Linked DNA regions of Homo sapiens: regions 1 and 2 are each linked to region 3. Evidence: promoter capture Hi-C in 16 types of primary human blood cells and fetal thymus (Javierre and others, 2016). All regions are on one chromosome and are shown on one strand. The core of a region is centred on a gene start or on the middle of the fragment in contact, and the rest is flanking DNA. Distances in the headings are between cores, read along the strand shown. Region 1 overlaps SPEN-AS1 (SPEN antisense RNA 1). Region 2 holds the start of CLCNKB (chloride voltage-gated channel Kb). Region 3 holds the start of FBXO42 (F-box protein 42).

Evidence for each region. Contacts are between HindIII fragments. The CHiCAGO score rates a contact against its expected background, and 5 or more counts as called.
Region 1: a contact is called between a fragment that was not itself captured here and the fragment with the promoter of FBXO42 in region 3, in 1 of 17 cell types (non-activated CD4 T cells). The highest score is 5.2, in non-activated CD4 T cells.
Region 2: a contact is called between the fragment with the promoter of CLCNKB here and the fragment with the promoter of FBXO42 in region 3, in 2 of 17 cell types (endothelial precursors and total CD4 T cells). The highest score is 9.3, in endothelial precursors.

The regions. Positions count from the first base shown.
Region 1 is chr1:15,840,260-15,842,959 of GRCh38, forward strand. The region is part of intron 1 of SPEN-AS1 (SPEN antisense RNA 1); the gene reads right to left. Among named protein-coding and RNA genes, the nearest start is that of SPEN, 6.1 kb to the right of the region's middle. The HindIII fragment of the contact is 5,451 bases long and covers 1-2,700 here.
Region 2 is chr1:16,042,328-16,045,081 of GRCh38, forward strand. CLCNKB (chloride voltage-gated channel Kb) reads left to right here and starts at 1,455. Exons shown (of 20, transcript NM_000085.5): 1 at 1,455-1,553; 2 at 2,159-2,265. The coding sequence starts at 2,166. The HindIII fragment of the contact is 13,884 bases long and covers 1-2,754 here.
Region 3 is chr1:16,351,056-16,354,003 of GRCh38, forward strand. It overlaps FBXO42 (F-box protein 42), which reads right to left and starts at 1,425. Exons shown (of 10, transcript NM_018994.3): 1 at 1,200-1,425. RefSeq lists an enhancer at 690-1,464. The HindIII fragment of the contact is 4,914 bases long and covers 1-2,948 here.

The DNA of each region.
Region 1 (2,700 bases), core at 56-2,555, 510 kb before region 3:
CTGCCTGCCGGGTTCAAGTGATTCTCCTGCCTTAGCCTCCCAAGTAGCTGTGATCACAGGTGGCCACCACCATGCCCGGCTAATTTTTTTTTTTGTTTGAGATGGAGTCTTACTCTGTTGCCCAGGCTGGAGTGCAGTGGCGCGATCTCGGCTCATGGCAACCTCCACCTCCCAGGTTCAAGCAATTCTCCTGCCTCACCCTCCTGAGTAGCTGAGACTACAGGAACTCGCCACCAAGCCCGGCTAATTTTTTGTATTTTTAGTAGAGACGGGGTTTCACCGTGTTAGCCAGGATGGTCTCTGTCTCCTGACCTCATGATCCGCTCGTCTCGGCCTCCCAAAGTGCTGGGATTACAGGTGTGAGCCACCGTGCCAGGCACTTGTATTCTTTTTTTTTTTCGAGATGGAGTCTTGCTCTGTCACCCAGGCTGGAGTGCAGTGGCATGATCTCAGCTCACTGCAACCTCTGCCTCCCGGGTTCAAGCGATTCTCCTGCCTAAGCCTCCCAAGTAGCTGGGATTAGAGGTACACGCCACCCTGCCCAGATAATTTTTTTTTTTTTTTAGAGACAGAGTCTTGCTCTGTTGCCCAGGCTGCAGTGCAGTGGTGTGATCTTGGCTCACTGCCACCTCTGCCTCCTGGGTTCAAGCAGTTCTCCTGCCTCAGCCGCCCGAGTAGCTGGGATTACAGGTGTGAATCACTGTGCCCGGCCTTAATTTTTGTATTCTTATTAGAGACGGGGTTTCCCCATATTGGCCAGGCTGGTCTCAAACTCTTGACCTTGTGTTCTATCCACCTTGGCCTCCCAAAGTGTTGGGATTACAGGCGTGAGCCACCGCGCCCGGCCCTAATTTTTGTATTTTTAGTAGAGACGGGGTTTCACCATGTTGGCCAGGCTGGTCTCGAACTCCTGACCTCAGGTGATCCACTGGCCTCAGCCTCCCAAAGTACTGTGATTACAGGCATGCGCCATTGCTCCCAGCCAGGAATAAAATTTTTTTAAAAAATTCAAATTCTACCACATAGGCATTAACCATGATTAACATTTGCAAATATCTTTCCAGTCTATTTTCCACTCAATTACACAAATATTGGTAAACTGCATTAGTAATTCTTAGTATTAAGTATATTGCCAGTATTTCCTCACAGGGGGAAAAATGTTACTTTTAGCAACTTTCCAGAAATAAACAATGGTAGAAACTTAAGAACTGATTTAAAAATATATCAGCCAGTATATTCATTTCTGAAAAACTAAAAATAACACGGAATAAATTATTTAGCTTTCTTAGAGGGTTGAACAGTAAAGTACCATATGAAGTGTTTTTTTTTTTTATCGGAGTCCACTCTGTTGCCCAGGCTCACTGCAACTTCTTCCTCCCAGGTTCAAGTGATTCTCCTGCCTAAGACTCCTGAGTAGCTGGGATTACAGGTGCATGCCACCATGCCCAGCTAATTTTTGTATTTTTAGTAGAGACGGGGTTTCACTATATTGGCCAGGCTAGTCTGGAACTCCTGACCTCAGGTGATCCACCTGTCTGGGCCTCCCAGAGTGCTGGGGTTACAGGCGTGAGCCAACCGTGCCTGGCTCTGTTATAAAGTATTAGCTTGCTTAAAGAATGGATCTGCGCTGGGTGCAGTGGCTCACACCTATAACCCCAGCACTTTGGGAGGCCAAGGCTGGCAGATCCCTTGAGTTCGGGAGTTCAAGACCAGCCTGGGCAATATGGAGACGCCTCTACAAAAAAATACCAAAAACAATTAACTGGGCCTGGTGGTGTGCGCCTGTAGACTCTGCTACTAGGTGGGAGGATGGCTTGAGCCTGGGAGGCAGAGGTTGCAGTGAGCTAAGATTGCACCACTATACTCCAGCCTGGGCGACAGAGGGAGACCCTGTCTCAAAAAAAAAAAAAAAAAAAAAAAAAAGAACTAGAGGACTAGCTAGCTAATATTTTCAATTCTTTGGAGTTCTGATAATTTATTTATTTATTTATTTATTTAGAGATGGAGTTTCGCTCGTTGCCCAGGCTGGAGTGCAATGGCGCGATCTTGGCTCACTGCCGAGATCAAACACCCTTTAATAATATTACAGTGGTGTTGCGTTTTATTTTCTGTTATTTTGGGGAAAAAATTTGGTTCTAATAGTACGAGTTTGTTGGTATTGTCAAATTCTCATGTGGTTGGGGCTTTGTTCATTTTATAGCTAGTTAATATTATATTATTTTATTTTATTTTATTTACTTATTTTTTGAGATGCAGTCTCACTGTCGTCCAGGCTGGAATGCACTGGCACGATCTTGGCTCACTGCAACCTCTGCCTCCTGGGTTCAAGCAATTGTCTGTCTCAGTCTCCCGAGTAGCTGGGATTCTAAGCGCCCGCCACCACACCTGGCTAATTTTTTTGTATGTTTAGTAGAGATGGGGTTTCACCATCTTGACCAAGCTGGTCTTGAACTCCTGACCTTGTGATCCACCCGCCTCGGCCTCCCAAAGTGCTAGGATTACAGACATGAGTCACTGTGCCTGGCCAGTTATATGATTTTATATGATGCCTTTTATATATTTTATATGATGCCTTTAAGAAGAAATACGCAGGTGGATCTCCTGTGGTCAGGAGTTCCAGACCAGCCTGGCCAACATGGTGAAATCCTGTGTCTACTAAAAATACAAAAATTAGCTGGGTGTGGTGGTGTGCACCTTAGT
Region 2 (2,754 bases), core at 205-2,704, 310 kb before region 3:
GGATGTGGACATGCAGTGCCGGCTGTGGGACAGTAGCCAGCAGCTGCCCCAGACCAGACACTGGGGATCCGGATGTTGACAGGGCAGCCAGTTCTGGTGCTGTGCAGAGTCAACAGGTCAGGGTGGCCAAGATGAAGGTGGGCTCGGGTTCATGCAGAGCGGCAACCCCCATCCCACCTCCCACAACACACACCTTCAATTTTGATTTGACTTGCCTGGCATCTAGGGGCAAAGGGTGGCCCAGGGTCCCAGATTTTAACAATCATCCAAGGGCCATCATGTTATTCAGAGAGTGGCTTTGTCTGGGTAGGACTGGAGGCAATTGCCCCCAACATCTTGCCCCAAAGTGGCATCAGACACAACTCTTCTGTTCTGTGCCCAAACCATTGCCCTGGTTCAGCCTCAGGAGCTGGAGGAGCTTTGGGCAGGGGAAGAGCTGCACAGTGTGGGGCTGGGTTCAGCCTCTGCTGTGTGACCTTGGATGAGTGACTCACCTCTCTGACCATCTACAAAATGGCGAGGCTCTCCCCATTCACAGGGTGTGGGGAGGAGGACTTGAGCTGCGGATGTGACGCTTCTGACACGTTGCAGGCACACGGCACGTGCTTGTTCCTCGCCATGTCCCCTCACACCTGTGCTGCCATCCTCTGTTGGGGTGGGACAAACTCTGTGGAATTACCCAGAAGTCCCCACCAGAGCCGCTGGCCCTTGGACGTGTGCTTTGAGAGGCATTTCCTGAGCCTGGAGGGTCTGGACACAGGATCAAGTCTGAGTTCCTGACCCCAATTCACTGCCTTGCCCCAGGTGTCGGCCTCCTCGCCAGCCCTGGACAAGATGGGTCATCAGGATGGGACCGTGTGGCACAGCCTGCGGGCTTTGGAGCCAGGCAAACCTGGGCTGGGAATCCTGGCGCTGCCTCGGCCTCCGTGATCTTAGACGGGCAGCCCCACCTCCCTGAGACACCATTTCTCTACAACGGGATCACGCTGCCTGCCTCGTGGGATTTCCGTGGGCACTCAGGGTAATTAATCTAGGGGAAGGCTGACTCTCTACCTGGCACACAGGGAGGCTGTGGTCATGCTGGCCCCACTCACCTTTGCCGGCCTGCTTTCTCCTTCTCTGCCCAGCCTCCTCCCCTCTCCCTCTGTGCTTTTCCAAACCTTCCATGTCCAGCTCTGAGACCCCTGGACCCTGAGCCTCAGCCTTGGCAGATGACCCCTCTCTGTCCTGCTGTGTGCGTGAGCTCCCCCTTCCCAGCCCCCGTCCAGCAGCACCCAGGAGCCTGAGTACAGCTGGGCACCACCCTCTGTGCAGCTATGGTGGGTGGGGAGGCTCCTGTTCCCCTCCCTGTTGGCAGCTCTGCTCTGCTCTGCTCCGGCCTGGGCAGTTCTGATCGGTTTTCAAGGACATTCTAAGTGTTCGCCATAAACCCTGGGCCCAGGCGGGAAAGGGGGGAGGATGTTGATTGTTGGAACACACACCTGTCCAGGTGCAGGGGAGCTGGAGGCTCTGTGAGAGGAGGGCCAGCTCAGCCACAGCAGGAGGACTGACAGGTGAGGGGTCGCTGCAAGATGCTGGGGCCTGCCAGGGCCAGACAGGCAGGGCGGGGGGGGGGGGGTGGTAAGGGCAGGAGCCAGCACCTCACTTTGGCCCTGGTGGGATCTTCTTCTGGGCCTGGGGTTTTGCTGCCTCTGTGGCCTGAGCTGGGGTCAGGGGTGCTCATAGGTGGACAGGGAGAGTCAGAGCCATCCATGGGACTCTGCAGTGAGAGTGTCACAGCCCTGGGCAGAGACTGCTCCCAGCAGTGGAAGCGCCAAGTGACCCAGGAGGGTGGGAGCGGCTGCCACCGAAGGGGAAGGGGCTCTGAGCAGGGCTTGGGCTCCGGCCTGTGCCCAGTCTGCTGCTGGACACAGGGGGACACCTAGGAATCCCACCCCCATCCCACACAATGACACACACAGGCACACACCCTCAGTGACGGAAACTCAGGGATGAAGGCACACACAGACCTAGTGTGATAACTTCACATACACACACACACACACACACACGCACAATCTTTCCTCTTCATGGGTGGGGAGAGCACTGGAAGGGCCTAGAGGCAGTGCGAGGACGTGCAGCAGCTCACCGCGGTCCCTCCCTCTATCCGCTTCTCCAGGGGCCTGATGGAGGAGTTTGTGGGGCTGCGTGAAGGCTCCTCAGGGAACCCTGTGACTCTGCAGGAGCTGTGGGGCCCCTGTCCCCGCATCCGCCGAGGCATCCGAGGTGAGAGCCAGGTCCTCTTCCCTTCCCCCTGGAGGACCACTCAGGACATCATTCCTGCCCAGCTCCCACCCCACCTCCCTGCCCAGGAACCACCCTCCTCCTGGCATTTGTCCAGGACATGACTGCCCAAAGTCTCCTGGGTGGCAGGGAGGGAAGGGGTCTGTCTGTCCAGCTGTCTGTGGGTCAGATGGGCCGGGCATCTGCCCTCTGCCTTTCGGGAGATACAGCCCAAGGCCTGGTCACTGTGCCCATCTTCCACCCAGGCCTCTCCCTCACCTACCTGTGCCAATGAGGGGACGTGGGGGTTAGCTGCTGGGACAGCTGGGGCCACAGCAAGGGGCTGGGGCAGCCTACACTTGGCACCTTTCCTTGGAGCCCCATGTGCTTTGTTCACTTTGAGACCTGACTGTCCCCTCAGCTACGGGGCAGAGCAAGTAGGGACCACAGAAGGAGGCTGACTGCAACCCCAGGGGCTGGTGCCCACAGCCA
Region 3 (2,948 bases), core at 175-2,674:
CAATTCTAAATGATGGTACTTCCCCCAAATTTTCCTTGCCTCTTTAAATCCATGATGTCATCATTCTTAAGCAGAAGTAAAGCCAATTTGTTACAAAAGATATTTTGGTGTGTCCAAGCAAAAGCAATCGCCTCAACAATTCTGCATAGCACAAGTTCAGTGAAGCCATCATTCCTCAAGAAAGAGACCACAAGGCTTCAAACCGACTTCCCTACATGACAGAAACACAATCGAAGTCTCCCAATTAGCATTTAAACAGCAATAAAAGTTGTTCTCAAAAAGGAACAACATAGTTTCAACGTCGGGGCCAGCAACTGCCAGCAAGTAAAACTGGTAATGTGTCAGAATCTTCATCTAGATCGATCAGAATCCCACCACAGAAAAATCCAGACTCTGGCAATTAAGAAATGAGGCTTTTATTTTCCTAACAGAAATCGGGAGATTTAACAGACAAAGCAATTGGTTATTCTGAATCTTAACAAACCGAAGGTTTCAAACGAACTCAGCGCTGAAGTTACTCTGCAGCGACCATCAAGATCTCACAATCGTTTTCTCTTCGCTTACAAATTCGTTCCCACCCTCCACCGTTCCCTTTGCACACACAATTCTCGCCAAGAGAAGCCTTCCACAGTCACAGCATGGATTGCTGTCTCAAGCAAGGAGATCCGCAGTTCCCATTTCTCTAAGGGAACACTCAACAAGCTAGGGGATAGGAAAGGCCTTTTGTGTTTTATTTAACGTAAACCAATTCCAAAATTATCCCTTTGCAGCTGCAGGTTCAGAGATGCTAGCCCCCAGCCGCAGCCCCAATTTTGATGGGCACCCGACCCCCGACTCCTCTCTCGCAAAGGAGTGAAATGTTCGGAGGAGCGATGAAAGATTACCTGACACCCTAAAGCCATCCTTGCCCGGGCCACACACCCCTTCACTGCCCGGGTGAGGGGACGAGAACCACCCTGCTGAGGAGAGGGGGTGGGTTCGCTCCCAACCCAAGGGCTGGCTGGAAAGGAGCTGTCCTCCTCCTCGCCTCACTCGAGGACGGCGATAGCAAGTCACCCTGCCCAACCAGGACCGACCCCCGCGTGGGATACGGGGCCTGCGTCAGACCCCGGGCGCCCGCTGCCCCTTGCCAGTCCCGGGCATAAAGGGCAGAAGGCGCCGGCTCCCCTCTGCGGCCCGGGGAGGAGGAGAGGCCTCACCTGGCCCAGCCCGCTCCACGCTCTCGGGTTCGCTCCGCTGGCGACGGTAATGAGGGAGCCAGGGACAGGGCCAGAGCAGAGGCGCTCTGCCTCAGGCCGCGACAGCCGTGCTCGGGGCTCCTCACAGCTGGCGGGACCCCGAGCCGCCCGGAGCCGCCATCTTCCTCCACTCAAACGCCGCCGCCGCCGCAGCTGCTGCTGCTCAGGCCGGGAGAAGACAGCGCAGAGCGCGCATGCGCCGGGGCGGGCGCGGCGGACGCGCGCGCACTCACGTCAGCGCGGCGGGATGGCGAGGGGCGGCCAGGGGGCGGCGCAGTGTTGAGAAAGGCCGTGGTCACAGGCCGAGGTTCTGTGGAGGGTGGAATGCGCTCGGGGGAGCTAGGCCTCCGCACCCGCCTTCGCCGCGTCTCTAGCGTCGACCTGATAGCCGCACCCACCCTCCGCTGCACTGTCTGGGGCAACTGGGTGGTTTTCCCGGTGGTTTGAGACTAACATTTAGCCAGGAATTAACTCACTTCTACCCCGAGGGCCCGATGAGCAGAGAGGGCTGTGGCGGATGTGAGTGCTCTTGGATATCGCCAAGGGGAGGGAAACTGTGCTTGAGGTGTGCAGGAGAAGTCTTCCCTTAACCGTAGCCTCGTAGCAACCACTGTGAGTTCTTACTAGCTCCACTTTTCAGATGAGGAAACTGAGGCACAGAAAACGATCACTTATTTGCCCGGAGTCACACACCTATCAGTGGAGGTGGGGCGGCGCGGGAAAGAGGATTTAAACTCAGGCTTGTCTGGTTCCCAAGCTCCTTTACTTCCTACTAGCTAGGTTATAGGATCCAGCAAAGTCCCCCTTCTCAAGGGAGCAACCTGGTGTGTAGGTGAGAACCTTCATGAGCCCAGCCCTACAGCATGTGGTCTAAGGAAATGCCAGATACAGAGTCAAAGGCTTCAGTCTAAACTCTGTAAGCCAAAAAAACAAAACAAAACAAAACAAAAAACTAAGCCCCCACCCCCCCCCCAACACCAAACCATCTGAACGGACTTCCTCCTAGGCCAGGGCAGTCTAAAATGTAACCAACCTGAGAGACTGGTTCAGGCCATGACGGGAAGCAGGACATGAGACATGCCTCATTACATCCTTCAGCATTGACATCAACACAACAGACCTTAAGACTGGTAAGAAACATTTACAATCTGTTCTCTCTGGAGCCCACCTGCCACTTGGAGGCTTCACGTGCGTGATAAAACTTTGGTGTCCACAATCCCTTATCATAACCCAGACATTCATTTCTATTGATAATAACTTTTTTTTTTTTGAGACAGGGTCTAACTCTGTTGCCCAGGCTGGAGTCCAGTGATGAGTTCTTGGTTCGCTGCAACCTCTGTCTTTCAGGCTCAAGCTATCCTCCTACCTTAGCCTCCTGAGTAACTGGGACTACAGGCGGGCACCACCATGCCTGGCTAATTTTTCCATTTTTTTTGTAGACACAGGGTTTCGCCATGTTGTCCACTCTCATCTCAAACTCCTGAGCTCAAGTAATCCACTTGCCTCGGCCTCCCAAAATGCTTGGATTACAGGCGTGTGCCACCGCACCAGGCCTATTGATAATAACTATTTCAACTCATTGCCAATCAGAAAATGTTTAAATCTGCCTATAATGTGGAAGCCCCCACTTCAAGTTTCCGGTCTTTCTGCACCGAACCAATGTAGTTTTTATTTATTTATTTACTTATTTTTATTTATTTGTTTATTTTT